Regions from separate parts of the Homo sapiens genome. Here region 1 is linked to region 2. Evidence: promoter capture Hi-C in 16 types of primary human blood cells and fetal thymus (Javierre and others, 2016). All regions are on one chromosome and are shown on one strand. Each heading gives the region's core, a stretch centred on a gene start or on the middle of the fragment in contact. The rest is flanking DNA. Distances are from core to core; before and after follow the strand shown. Region 1 overlaps CHST12 (carbohydrate sulfotransferase 12). Region 2 holds the start of AMZ1 (archaelysin family metallopeptidase 1).

What was found. The method cuts DNA at HindIII sites, captures the fragments that hold promoters and counts their contacts. A CHiCAGO score of 5 or more calls a contact.
Region 1: a fragment that was not itself captured here is called in contact with the fragment with the promoter of AMZ1 in region 2 in 3 of 17 cell types (neutrophils, M1 macrophages and monocytes); the score reaches 8.2 in neutrophils.

The regions. Positions count from the first base shown.
Region 1 is chr7:2,416,888-2,424,084 of GRCh38, reverse strand. All of the region lies in intron 1 of CHST12 (carbohydrate sulfotransferase 12), which reads right to left. Among named protein-coding and RNA genes, the nearest start is that of CHST12, 17 kb to the right of the region's middle. The HindIII fragment of the contact is 7,524 bases long and covers 1-7,096 here.
Region 2 is chr7:2,683,130-2,689,897 of GRCh38, reverse strand. It overlaps AMZ1 (archaelysin family metallopeptidase 1), which reads right to left and starts at 1,696. Exons shown (of 7, transcript NM_001384743.1): 1 at 1,602-1,696. RefSeq lists an enhancer at 728-997. The HindIII fragment of the contact is 47,840 bases long and covers 1-6,768 here.

The DNA of each region.
Region 1 (7,197 bases), core at 2,085-4,584, 270 kb after region 2:
ATTGTGCCCAGCCTTAATTAATCAATTAATTTTGAAATACAGTCTTGCGCTGTTGCCCAGGCTGGAGAACAGTGCTGCAATCTCGGCTCACTGCAGCCTCGACCTCCCAGGCACCTCAGTTTCCCAAGTAGCTGGGACCATAGGCGTGTGCCACCATGCCCAGCTAATTTTTGTATTCTGGGTAGAGACAGGGTCTTGCCATGTTGCCCAGGCTGGTCTCGAACTCCTGGGCTCAAATGATTTACCCGCCTCTGCTTCTGGCATGAGCCACCACGCCTGGCCTCTTAATTCATTTTTTCAATGGCAAGAGTAATGAGGTAAATCACAGTAAAAAGCTCAGTGTACAGAGGGTGGTGGGCTTCCACATGAAAGGAGCTGGGATGATTCTCAGAAAAAAGGATGCCCTCTGCCTACTGCCACCTTCACTCAGTGCTTCCTGGACCCACAGAGCTCAGCATGCCTGATGGAGGCAGAGAAGCCCAGCACCCAGAGGACTCCAACCTCCTCCCGCCCTGTGGCCTGTAGTGCACCAGCATCACGCACAGCTAATACGTGTCTCAAACCAGAGAAAGGCAATGACCCCACTACAGAAATCACGAAAACGTGAGCATCAGAGGGCCTGCTGCTGTCTCTCCACGGCCCCCGCTGCTGTCTCTCCATGGCCCCCACCGCATTCCTCACCTGCCCTCCCAGTGTGTTCAGGGTGTGAGTGGGACGAGAACATGCAGTCCTGTACCAGCTTTCAATACCCTCTGAACGGTTATAACCACACGATTTTACAGCCTATTTTTCTACTTTTTTTTATTTTTTTTGAGATGGAGTCTTGTTCTGTCACCCAGGCGGGACTACAGTGGTGTGACCTTGGCTCACCACAGCCTCCACCTCCCAGGTTCAAGGGATTCTCATGCCTCAGCCTCCCAAATAGCTGGGACCACAGGCACGCACCATGCCCGGCTAATTTTTGGATTTTTAGTAGAGAGGGGCTTTCTCCATGTTGGCCAGGCTGGTCTCTAACTCCTGGCCTCGAGTGATCCAAGTGCCTCAGCCTCCCAAAGTGCTGGAATGACAGGCGTGAGCCACTGCAGCCTATTTTTAAAACTAGATCCTAAGTACCTGTGCTGTTCAAGTTTTCAGGACCACCCCTCTCGAGGATGTGTAACAATCAACAGTTTCTTCAGATGACAGTGAATGAAACCACACTAAAAAAAAAAAAAAAAAGGTTTTCTGAAGGCTAAGAAAGCAGCAAAGCAGGGCTGCACGCAGTGGCTCTCTCCTGTAATCCCAGCACTTTGGGAAGCCGAGGCAGGTGGATCACAAAGTCAAGAGATCGAGACCAGTCTGGCCAACACGGTGAAACCCTGTCTCTACTAAAAATACAAAAATTAGCTGGGTGTGGTGGTGTGTGCCTGTAGTCCCAGCTACTGGGGAGGCTGAGGCAGGAGAATCGCTTGAACCCGGGAGTCGCAGTTTGCAGTGAGCTGAGATCGCACCACTGCACTCCAGCCTGGTGACGGAACAAGACTCCATCTAAAAAAAAAGAGGCAGGGCGCAGTGGCTCACGCCTGTAATCCCAGAACCTTGGGAGGCCGAGGCGGGTGGATCACCTGAGGTCAGGAGTTCGAGACCAGCCTGACCAATAACGGAGAAACCCTGTCTCTACTAAAAATACAAAATAAGCCGGGCATGGTGGCACATGCCTGTAATCCCAGCTACTCGGGAGGCTGAGGCAGGAGAATCGCTTGAACCTGGGAGGCGGAGGTTGCAGTGAGCCGAGATGGCGCCACTGCACTCCAGCCTGGGCCACAAGAGGGAAACTCCCTCTCAAAAAAAAAAAAGAAAGAAAAAGAAAGTAGCAAAGGGGAAAAGTTAACATGACAAACAACTTGAGAGGGAAGTTGCCAATTAAGATGAAGACTAACGAGGAGAGTGAAGCTGCAGGGGAGTCAGTCACATCGCCGACATAGGCAGACGCCAGAGGCCAGGGATGCTGCCGCCGTCCACGAATTCTGTACCTAAGAACTAGATAAGGGCGTTACTGAGCCAACCTAAGCACTTCTGCTTATTTTTCAGCCAAGAAGCATTACATATATACAACCAATGCCAGTGACTACATCATTTTATAAAACCTATGACTTTTCATGGATAATTTAATAAGATTTCAGTTTAATTACAAGGAAAATATTTTAGGATTATAACTAAGTATTAATAATATCTTTTAGGGCCAGCTATGGTGGCTCATGCCTGTAATCCCAGCACTTTGGGAGGCTGAGGCGGGAGAACTGCCCAGGAGTTTAAGACCAGCCTGGGCAACATAGCAAGACCCTATCTCTATAAAAAATGTTTAAAAAGGCTGGGCGCAGTAGCTCATGCCTGTAATCCTGGCACTTTGGGAGGCTGAGGTGGGCAGATCACTTGAGCTCAGGAGTTTGAGGACAGCCTGGCCAACATGGCAAAACCCTGTCTCTACTAAAAATAAAAAAATTAGCCTGGCATGGTGGTGTACACTTGTAATCCCAGTTTCTTGAGAGGCTGAGATGGAAGGACCATTTGAACCTGGCAGGTGGAAGTTGCAGTGAGCCAAGATCGCGTCACCGCACTCTAGCCTGGGCAACAGAGCGAGACTCCGTCTCAAAAAAAAAAAAAAAAGTAAAAAAAAAAACCAAACTAAAAAACTAGCCAGGCATGGTAGTGTGTGCCTGTAGTCTCAGCTACTTAGGAGGCTGAGGTGAGAGGATTGCTTGAGCCCAAGAGTTTGAGGCTGCAGTGAGCTATGATGTTGCCACTGCATCCCAGCCTGGGCAACATACCAAGACCCTTCTCTACAAAAAAAATGTAAAAAAAAAAAAAAAAAAAAAAAGAATTAGCAGGACATGGTGGTGTGCACTTACAGTCCCAGCTACTCAGGAGGCTGAGGCAAGAGGATCGCTTGAGCCCAGGAGATGGAGGTTGCAGTGAGCTGTGATGGCACCACTGCACTCCAGCCTGGGGAACAGAGTGAGACTCTGTCTCAAAAAAAAAAATTAACACAGAATTATCATATAAAATTACCATATGAGGGGCCAGGTGCAGTGACTCACGCCTGTAATCCCAGCTACTCAAGGAGGCTGAGGCAGAATTGCTTGAACCCAGGAGGCAGAGGTTGCAGTGAGCTGAGATTGTACCACTGTATTCCAGACTTGGTGACACAGTGAGACTCCGTCTTAAAAAATAATAATAAAATAAAATTGCCATATGATACAGCAATTCCACTTCTGTGTATACACCCAAAATAACTGAAAGCAAGGTTGTTGTTCTTTTCCTGAGACAGGGTCTCACTGTGTTGTCCAGGCTGGGGTGCAGTGGTGCCATCAAACCTCACTGCAGCCTTGAACTCCTGGGCTCAAGCAGCCTCCTGAGTAGCTGAGACTATAGGTGGTTGCCACCATGCCCAGCTAATTTTTTGTAGAGATGGCATCTTGCTATGTTGTCAGGGTGGTCTTGAATTCCTGGCCTCAAGTGATCCTTCCACCTTGGCCCCCCAAAGTGCTGGGATGACAGGCATGAGCCACTGCACTCAACTTAGAGCAGGGTCTTGAAGAGATGCTTGCACACCCATGTCCACACTGATGTCAGCATCATTCACAATAGCCAAAAGGTGGAAGGAACCCAAGTGTTCGCGACAGATGAACAGACAAGCAAACTGTGGTCAACCCATGTAGTAGAATATTACTCAGCCTTCAAAAGAAAGGAAATTCTGACACATGCTACAACATGGATGAACCCTGAAGACATTATGCTCAGTGAAATAAGCCAGAAACAAAAGGACAAATACTTGGCCGGTGTGGCGGCTCACACCTGTAATCCCAGCACTTTGGGAAGCCGAGGCGGGCAGATCACGAGGTCAGGAGATCAAGACCATCCTGGCTAACACGGTGAAACCCCGTCTCTACTAAAAATACAAAAAATTAGCCGGGCATGCTGACGGGCGCCTGTAGTCTCAGCTACTCTGGAGGCTGAGGCAGGAGAATGGCATGAACCCGGGAGGCAGAGCTTACAGTGAGGTGAGATCGTGCCACTGCACTCCAGCCTGGGCAACAGAGCGAGACTCCATCTCAAAAAAAAAAAAAAAAAAAAAAAGACAAATATTTCAAGATTCTACTTGTATGAGGTTCCCAGGGCAGTTAAATTCCTAGAGACAGAAAGTAGAATGGTGGTTGTGGGGGCAGGGGAGGGGGATGGGAGTTTGTGTTCAATGGGGACAGAGCTTTAGTTTTACAAGATGAACATAGTTCTGGGGCTGGAGGGTGGTGATTGCTGCAGAGTGATGTGAACGTGCTTAACACCACCAAACTGCATGCTTAAAAATGGTTACAATGGTAATTTTTTTTTTTTTTTTTTGAGACGGAGTTTTGCTCTTGTTGCCTAGGCTTGAGTGCAGTTGCACAATCTCAGCTCACTGCAACCTCTGCTTCCCGGGTTCAAGCGATTCTCCTGCCTCAGCCTCCTAAGTAGCTGGGATTACAGGCTCCCACCACCATGCCTGGCTAATTTTTGTATTTTTAGTAGAGACGGGGCTTCACCATGTTGGCCAGGCTGGTCTCGGACTCCTGACCTCAGGGAATCCACCTGCCTTGGCCTCTCAAAGTGCTGGGATTACAGGCGTAAGCCACTATGCCCAGCCATTTTTTTTTTTTTTTTTTTTTTGGAGACAGGGTTCCACTCTATCATTCAGACTTGAGTGCAGTGGCGTGATCTTGGCTCACTGCAACCTCCCCACTCAAGTGATCCTCCCACCTCAGCCTCCTGAGTAGCTGGGTTACAGGTGTGCACCACCACGCCTGGCTAATTTTTGTATTTTTAGTAGAGATGGGGTTTCACCATGTTGACCAGGATGGTCTTGAACTCCTGGGCTCAAGTGATCTACCTGCCTCGGCCTCCCAAAGTGATGGGAATACAGGCATGAGCCACCACGCCCAGCCAAGTTTTAATTTTAAAAGGCGGTTTGGACAGCCAGACATGGTGGTTCATGCCTGTGATCCCAGCAATTTGGGAAGCCAAGGCAGGGGGATTGCTTGAGCCAAGGGGTTCAAGACCAGCCTGGTCCACACAGTGAGACCTCATGTCTACAAATAATTTTTAAAATTAGCTGGGCATGATGGCACACACCTGTGGTCCCAGTTACTCTGGAGGCTGAAGTGGGAAAATGGCTTGAACCCAGGAGGTCAAGGCTGCAGTAAGCTATGATTGTGCCGTTGTACTCCAGCCTGGGTGACAGGGTGAGACCACATCCCAAAAAACAAAACAACAACAACAGCAACAGAAACAACAGCTTGGACATACAAGAATGTCTGGCCCAGTGACTGACACAGCTCCGGCCTGAAGCCCACGTGACTTTTGCTACCTTCTGGGCAGGAGAGAAGCATTCAGGGAAGGGTCCGATAGAACCGCTGGGCTGAGCACTGCGGTCATGATCCCACCTGCTTCCAAAACACATCATGGGCAACACTGAAGCCATAAAGTAATTTTTCATTAAAAAGAAATAGGACATGATTTCCAAATGCAAATCTCCCAGTGTTTCAACAAAAAGCCCCCTGTGATTTGAAGCAGAGCACGCAGAGGCATCTCAGATGAACAGACGTATAACCCGCCTGCGGCACACCAACCGTGGGCTGCTGCCTCCAGCAAGGGAACCCACAGAGCAAAGTTTCACCTAGAAGCATCATCCGCCAGGAAACTGTAGCGGTGGAGGTGCTTTTCCACGGCGGCTGTGTCAGATGCCCTCATAAATGGCACTGAAAATTATTAGGTTAGGTTTAAACGCAAACACTGTGGTTAGGCTGACAGAGTTGTGTCTTAGCTCCGGGTGGGGCTGTTAAATATTTCTTTGCTCACACACAACATGCAGGGCATGAAGCCAGGGGCAGACTCTGCAGCCCCAGGGAGCAAGTCCATGCCGGCTGCCCACGCAAGGCCACTGGTCCAAATACTCATGCTGACTGTGGGCAAAACACTAGAGAAAGAAAAGGCAGCTAGCACAGACAGCTATGGCCTTAGCTCACTCGTGTTCAGCTGTGTGTCACCGTGACGTGACCACAGCCATCCTGCTCTGGAAGACACTGCCACATGGCCAGATCTATATTAAGCCCCCCAGAAGCGCATTTTCCACATTGTTACAGCAGAACTGACATCGATCACACAAAAAGGTCACGTAATACGTGGCTAATTTTATGTGTCAACTGGACTGGGCCGTGGGGTACCCAGATATTTGGTTAAGCATACTCTGACTGCGTCTGTGAGCATGTTTCTGGAGGAGAGTAACATCCAAATGGGTGAACTGAGATATCGGATGCCCTCCCAGTATGAGAGGGCCTCAGCCAGTCCACTGAAGGCCCAAGTACAACAGAAAAGTGGAGTAAGGCCAGGTGTGGTGGCTCATGCCTATAATCACAGCACTTTGGGAGGCCAAGGCAGGCGGATCAGTTGAGGTCAGGAGTTCGAGACTAGCCTGGCCAACATGGTAAAACCCTGTCTCTACTAAAAATACAAAAATTAGTCAGGCCTGGTGGCACATGCCTGTAATTCCAGCTACATGGGAGGTTGAGGCAGGAGAATAGTTTGAACCTGGGAGGCGGAGGTTGCAGTGAGCTAAGATCACACCACTGTACTCCAGCCTGGGCAACACTGTGAGACTCCATCACAAAAAAAAAAAAAAAAAAAAGTCAGACATGGTGGCGCACACCTGTAACCCAGCTACTCAGGAGGCTGAGGCAGGAGAATTGCTTGAACCCAGGAAGCAGAGGTTGCAGTGAGCTGAGATCACGCCACTGCACTCTAGCCTGGCCAACAGAGCAAGACTCTGCCTCAAAAAAAAAAAAAAAAGGTAGAGTAAGAGAATCAACTCTCTCTGCCTGCCTGTCTTTGAGCTGGGACATTGGTCTTCGTCTTTGGACTCCGTCTCAGACTGGAGTCATACCATTGGCTCTCCAGGGTCTGAATTTCTCAGCCTCCGTAATTGTGTGAGCCAATTTCTTATCATCAATCTCTTTGTATACACATTGCAAAAGAAAAATAAAATCTCAGGACCCCGAATTCACCAAGCTAAAGGGAAAGTTAAGCTTAACAACCAAGTTACGCAAAAGAAAAGCTGCCTTCTTTTCTTTCCCAGATAAAGTAATTTACGTGCTTATTTATCGCAGGTAAAATGCAGATTTACTGTGC
Region 2 (6,768 bases), core at 447-2,946:
GGGTACCCACGGGGAGGGAGCCGCCTTAGTGGGGGTCAGCTTCGCAGCACCCTCTGGCACTCACCAACCCATCCATGCTCCAAAAAGGAGACCCCCAGATGGAGGTTTCTCGCTGTCCTTTGGACCCTGTCACAGTGTGTCCCCCTCCTCTGCTAACTGCAGTCATGACAGCAGCCAACAGGTCTCATGCCTGCGTCCTCCAAGCCACACACGGAGCCGCAGGTGCCACTGCGGTGTTTCAGGTGGGGAAACTGAGGCTCAGACGTTAAGTGACTTGGCCCTGGCGACACAGCTGGGGGCCAGCGGGGCCTGGTTTCAAAGCCACGCTTCACACTGGAACCCCAGCTGCTCCTGGAGCAGGGATGTTCTGACGGGGACAGGGGGTAGGACGTCTCCTCTCCCAGAGCACCCGAGTTCCAGCCCTGCTGCTATTAATACCATGGGTAAACTCAGACGCTTCTCCTTCCTCCTCCCCTTGCCTTTTTTTGTCCAAAGACTGGAAAAGAGCACGTCCGCATCCCCCCCCCAGGGAGGTTCTGCCGCTCTAAGCAACAAGGGCCGCCAGACTGGCCCAGTAACCAGGTATCCAAGGTCAGGCTGCCCTAAACCGCACAGCTCCGGGCACTCATGCTCCCCCATCTGACCACGCAGATGCCTGGCCTTTGGGCAAGAAACCATGCTCTGATTCTCGCTATTCTGAATGCGCTTTGCAAAACCTCCCAGCAGCTGCATCGAGCTATTCATTAGCTGACAGCGGAGACCTTCAGGCAGAACCAGACGGACGGATGGTTTTGGGGGTTTCTCACCTCTCAGTTTCCATTCGCTAGGAGGGAAAACCGGGGGCTTAGACCGCAGGGGTAGTGGCCTCCGGGCCAGACTCTTGGCTTCCTGTTCTCTCTCCTCACCTGCGAACCCCAAACTCCTCTGCCAAGTGTTTCCCTCCCGTGATGGGGGCAGAAAGGACCCAGGTCCCTGCCCTCCCCTGTCCTTTGTAAAGTTTGCCATTTCTCTGTCACCCCTCCCTTGCTTTTCTGGTTTTGAGACCTGTCTTACATCCCTGCAGGGATCATATCCACAGCCTTCTCCCTCAGTCTCCTGGGGGAGGAAGCCTTCTCCCTCCCCGGCTCATACACAGGCTGCGGGGAGCCCTGGGCACGACGAGATTCTCGGCGCCCTGGAGGTTCCCCGGGGACGTCCCGCACCCACCTGGCTCGCCCCAGCCCGGAAACGCCTTCTTTCGGGCGCTTGGCCCTGGATTCCCGACCCGTCCCCAGTTTGCTCCCATCGGGAAGCGCGCAGGTCGCCCTGGCCTGGGAGAGGATGGCGGGGAGGGGGCGCGTGGCCCTTCCCTGGCCCGGCCTTCCCTCTGCAGGACCTGCCGGGGCTGTGCGGACCCCGGCGCGGCGCTGCACCAAACCCTCGCCAAGTGCGCCCTTCGCGTCTCCGCGGTCCCCGCGCGCCCGTAGCCGCCGCCGCCCGGGCGCCCTCGGGACTTGGTGCGCGGGCCGGGCTGGACCCGGAGCTGCCCCTACCCACCCGCCCCGGCACGGAGGTCCCTCTCGGTCCCTGCGCCCCCGAGTCTTCCCCGCGCGCCCCCCTACCTCGCAGTCCCGCGCCCGCCGGAGCCGGCAGAGGCCGCGCCGGGCACCGAGCCCCGGGCAGCAGCGTGGGCAGCTCGGCCTGGGCCGGGAGGATCGGGAGGTCCCGGTGACGTCGGCGCGCGGGGCAGGGACCGAGGCGGGCGGGACTGGGGCCGGTGTGGGGCCGCGGGCAGGACAGGAGGGCCACACCCCTCCCGGCGCTCAGCGTCCTGCCCCACTCCCTCCAGCTGCCCGCGGTGGAGCTCACGTGGGACCCTCCAGCCTCCCAGAAACACCCGGGCAGGGGGGCCCCAGAGCCTAAAGCCAAACAGGTGAGGGAGGTCAGTCAGCCCGGGCCAGTTCGTGCCTCCCCAGGTGAGAGGAGTAAACCCGGCTACTCTGCAAGGCGCCAGGTGAAGAGGTGAACCAGGCCACCAGTTAAGGCCCCAGGTGAGAGGGGTGAACCAGCGCCACGAGGTGAGGAAGGGGAACCAGGCCACCAGGAGAGGCCCCAGGTGAGAGGGGTGAACCAGGCTATCAGGCAAGGCGCCAGGTGAGGGGGTGAACGAGGCCACCAGGTGAGGAGGTGAACCAGGCTTATCAGCGAAGCCCCAGGTGAGAGGGGTGAACCAGGCCCCTAGGTTAGCCCTACAGTCAGTGGCCCTGAGGACGGGCGCCCTGCCCTACCCTGGCCAGCTGTGAGTGCAGCCCTGGCCCTGTGCCAGCCACCAGGAGATGGAAAGGACTCTAAGTGCGGAAGGATGCCGTGAAGGCCGGCATGACGGCTCCAGACAGAGCCCAGAGGCCTTTTCCATAAACTGCCCTTTTCCTCTCTGCAAACCCTCCCAGCACCAGCTTCCCTCGGGCAGCCTCCCACCAGCTCTGCTTCACCGTGCAGAAATGCCCCCCACGCCCTCAGCAGCGCCCCACAGATGGCTGAGGGATTCGTCACCATCGTCCCACACCAGTGCAAAGAATTTTTTTTTTTTTTTAGATGGAGTCTCGCTCTGTCGCCCAGGCTGGAGTGTAATGGTGCAATCTGGGCTCACTGCAACCTCCACCTCCGGGGTTCAAGTCATTCTTCTGCCTCAGCCGCCTGAGTAGTGGGGATTATAGGTACCCATCATTGTGTCCAGCTAATTTTTGTATTTTTAATAGAGATGGGGTTTCACCTTCTTGGCCAGGCTGGTATCAAACTCTTGACCTCATGATACACCCGCCTCAGCCTCTCAAAGTGCTGGGAGTACAGGCGTGAGCCACCACACCCAGCCTCAAAGAATTTTTTTAAGCCTTAAGAAATAACACGGCTGGGCGTGGTGGCTCATGCCTGTAATCCCAGCACTTTGGGAGGCTGAGGCAGACAGATCACAAGGTCAGGAGTTCAAGACCGGCCTGGCCAGTATGGTCAAACCCCGTCTCTATTAAAAATAAAAAAATTAGCTGGGCGTGGTGGCTGGTGCCTATAGTCCCAGCTACTCGGGAGGCTGAAGCAGGAGAATCACTTGAACCCGGGAGGCGGAGGTTGCAGTGAGCCGAGATTATGCCACTGCACTCCAGCCTGGGTGACAAAGCAAGACTTTGTTTCAAAAAAAAAAGAGAGAGAGAGAAAAACAACACAACACTAGGTGTCCGGTGTGCAAAATTTGGAAAATTATGAAAAATAAAAACAAAAAGAAGACCCCATAAGCCAACTGTGTAGAGGTAACCTCTCTCACCTTCTTGTCAGACATCCTTCTGATCGCCTTCTCCTCCACATTGAAATGTATTTTTAAAAAGTTTTTTTTGAGACAGGATCTTGCTCTATTGCCCAAGCTAGAATGCACTGGTATAAACGCGAGTCACTGTAGCCTCGACCTCCTAGACTCCAGCAATCCTCCTCCCTCAGCCTCCTGAGTAGCTGAGACTACAGGTACGTGCCATCACACCTGGCTAATTTTGAAACTTTTATGTAGAGATGGGATCTCGCTATGTTGCTCAAGCTGGTCTCAAACTCCTGGGCTCAAACAACCCTCCCAGCTCGGCCTCCCAAAATGTTGAGATCACAGGTATGAGCCACCGTGCCCAGCCTAAATACATATTTTAAGGGATTCACGTCACATACTGCGTTCTGCAGGCGGCCCGTGACTTCACACTCATCAATAGCCAAAAGTCCGTCTCCACACCCTGATGGTCTGCGCTGGACTCCGTGTCATGGATCTGTCACCTGCTTTGGGATATTTTGGTTTCTCCTGGTGTCTCACTAGCATATATCACTGTGATAGACGATCTTGTTTCCACAGATCTTTGTACAGGTATCTGGTCCCCCTCACCTTGGGATAAATTCCTACAAATAGATTGTGACTCAGAAAGCTGCACTTCTTCACACGTGTTGCCGCAGGGATTTTCCAGGTTATTTCTGTTGGGGATGGAGAACCCAGAACCTGAGAAAAGATGAATGTTCTTTTTTTTTTTTTTTTTTTTTTCTTGAGACGGAGTCTCGCTCTGTCACTCAGGCTGGAGTGCAGTGGCGTGATCTCGGCTCACTGCAAGCTCCACCTCCCGGGTTCACACCATTCTCCTGCCTCAGCCTCCTAAGTAGCTGGGACTACAGGCGCCTGCCATCATGCCTAGCTAATTTTTGTGTTTTTAGTAGAGATGGGGTTTCACCATGTTGGCCAGGATGGTCTCGATCTCCTGACCTCGTGATCCGCCTGCCACGGCCTCCCAAAGTGCTGGGATTACAGGCATGAGCCACCGCACCCGGCCTTTTTTTTTTTTTGAGACGGAGTCTCACTCTGTTGCCCAGAGCTGGAGTACAAGTGGCGCGATCTCGGCTCACTGCAAACTCCACTTCCTGGGTTCAAGCGATTCTCCTGCCTCAGCCACCCAAGTAGCTGCGATTACAGGTGCCCGTCACCTCGCCCGGCTAATTTTTGTATTTTTAGGAAGGACAGGGCTTCACCCTGTTGGCCAGGCTGGTCTCGAACTCCTGACTTCAAGTGATCCACCCGCCTTGGCCTCCCAAATTGCTGGGATTACAGGCGTGAGCCACCGAGCCTGGCCTGAATGTTCTGTCCTAAAGCTGCTTATTACAAAGAAGTTGTGGAATATCCTCCCCCCAACCCCCACGCCCCTCCCTGAATAGCCACCGGAAAGGAAATTATGCATCGAGGCCGGGCGCGGCGGCTCAACCTGTAATCCCAGCACTTTGGGAGGCCGAGGCGGGCGGATCACGAGGTCAGAAGATCAAGACCATCCTGGCTAACACAGTGAAACTCCATCTTTACTAAAGATACAAAAAATTAGCCGGGCGTGGTGGCGGGCGCCTGTAGTCCCAGCTACTCAGGAGGCTGAGGCAGGAGAATGGCGTGAACCTGGGAGGCGGAGCTTGCAGTGAGCTGAGATCGCGCCACTGCACTCCAGCCTGGGCGACAGAGACTCCGTCTCAAAAAAAAAAAAAAAAAAAGCAATTATGTGTCAAGCCCAGAGTGGCAGTTCCTCCTCTGTCTGTTGGGTCAGCCCGGGAGACTGGAAGCCCAGATGAGTAGGGCCCCTCCTGGGTGCCCCAAGTTGGGTGGCGCCATGCCCAGTGCCAGGACCCCCGAAACACAGAGGCAGCCTGCTGATGACCTGGCCCCTGCCAGCCAAGGCTTCACTCAGCCAACGCCCTGTCCACACTGCACCCGGGACACGCTGGTCTCCCACCGGCAGACTGCACACCCCTTTCTGGTTGAAGCTACCTCGTCAGAGTCTATTCTAGAAAGAGGCCGTGATATGGGGACCCCTGTCCTTTCAGTGATGAACAAAGGGGGCCGCCCCCAACTTTGACCCCATCACCATCCTCTGACCCAGGCCGACTTGGGGTTAAAAGAGAACTGTGTGGCCTGGGGAAGCTGCTTCACCTTGCCCTGCCTCAGTTTCCCCAGGGTGGGTTACATAGCGGCTCCCAAAAATGTGCCTACTTGCACCATCAGAATGGGACCTTATTTGGAAACCGAGTCGTTGCAGATATGGTTAAAGTAAGGATCTCAAGATGAGGTCATCCTGGGTCAGAGTCAGGGTGGGCCCTAAATCCAATGCAAGTGACTTTGTAAGAGACAGAAAGAGGTTCCTCATTGGAGGAACAAGACAATGTAAAAAATAATGACAATTTTTTTTTTTGAGATGGAGTCTCGCTCTGTCACCCGGGCTGGAGTGCAGTGGCGTGATCTTGGCTCACTGCAACCTCTGCCTCCCAGGTTCAAGCGATTCTCCTGCTTCAGCCTCCTGAGTAGCTGGGATTATAGGCGCGTGCCACCAAGCCCAGCTAATTTTTGTATTTTTAGTAGAGATGGGGTTTCACTGTGTTGGCCAGGCTGGTCTTAAACTCCTGACCTCAAGTGATCCACCCGCCTCGGCCTCCCAAAGTGCTGGGATTATAGGCATGAGCCACTACACCCAGCCAACAATTTTTTAAAAAGAGAGAGAAAGAGGCTGGGTGAGGTGGCTCACGCCTGTAATCTCCAACACTTTGGGAAGCCGAGGTGGGAGGATCACTTGAGCCCAGGAGTTGGAGACCAGCCTGGGCAGCATCTCTACAAAATATTGTAAAAAACAGACAGAGCTGGGCGCGGTGGCTCGCGTCTCTAATCCCAGCACTTTGGGAGGCCAAGGCAGGCGGATCACGAGGTCAGGAGATCGAGACCATCCTGGCTAACACGGTGAAACCCCGTCTCTATTAAAAATATAAAAAAATTAGCCAGGCGTGGTGGCAGGCACCTGTAGTCCCAGCTACTCGGGAGTCTGAGGCAGGAGAATGGTGTGAACCTGGGAGGCGGAGCTTGCAGTGAGCCGAGATCGTGCCACTGCACTCCAGCCTGGGTGACAGAGCCAGACTCTGTCTCAAAAAAAACAAAAACAAAAACAAACAAACAAACAAAAAAACAGAAAGTTGAAGACACAGAGACACAGAGGAGAAGACGGAGATGGGAGTGGTGCAGCCACAAGCCAAGGACACCTGGAGCCCCCAGAAGCAGGAAGAGGCAGGAAGGACCTTCCCCTGGAGCCCTCTGCAGAAGTTCGGCCCTGCCCCAGCCTTGACTTCAGACCACTGCCCTCCAGAATTGACAGTGAATGTGTGCTGTTTGAAGCCGCACAGCTGTGGTCATTTGTCACGGCAGCCGCAGGAAACTCATCCACATTGGAAAACAGGAAAATGCTTCACACGGGT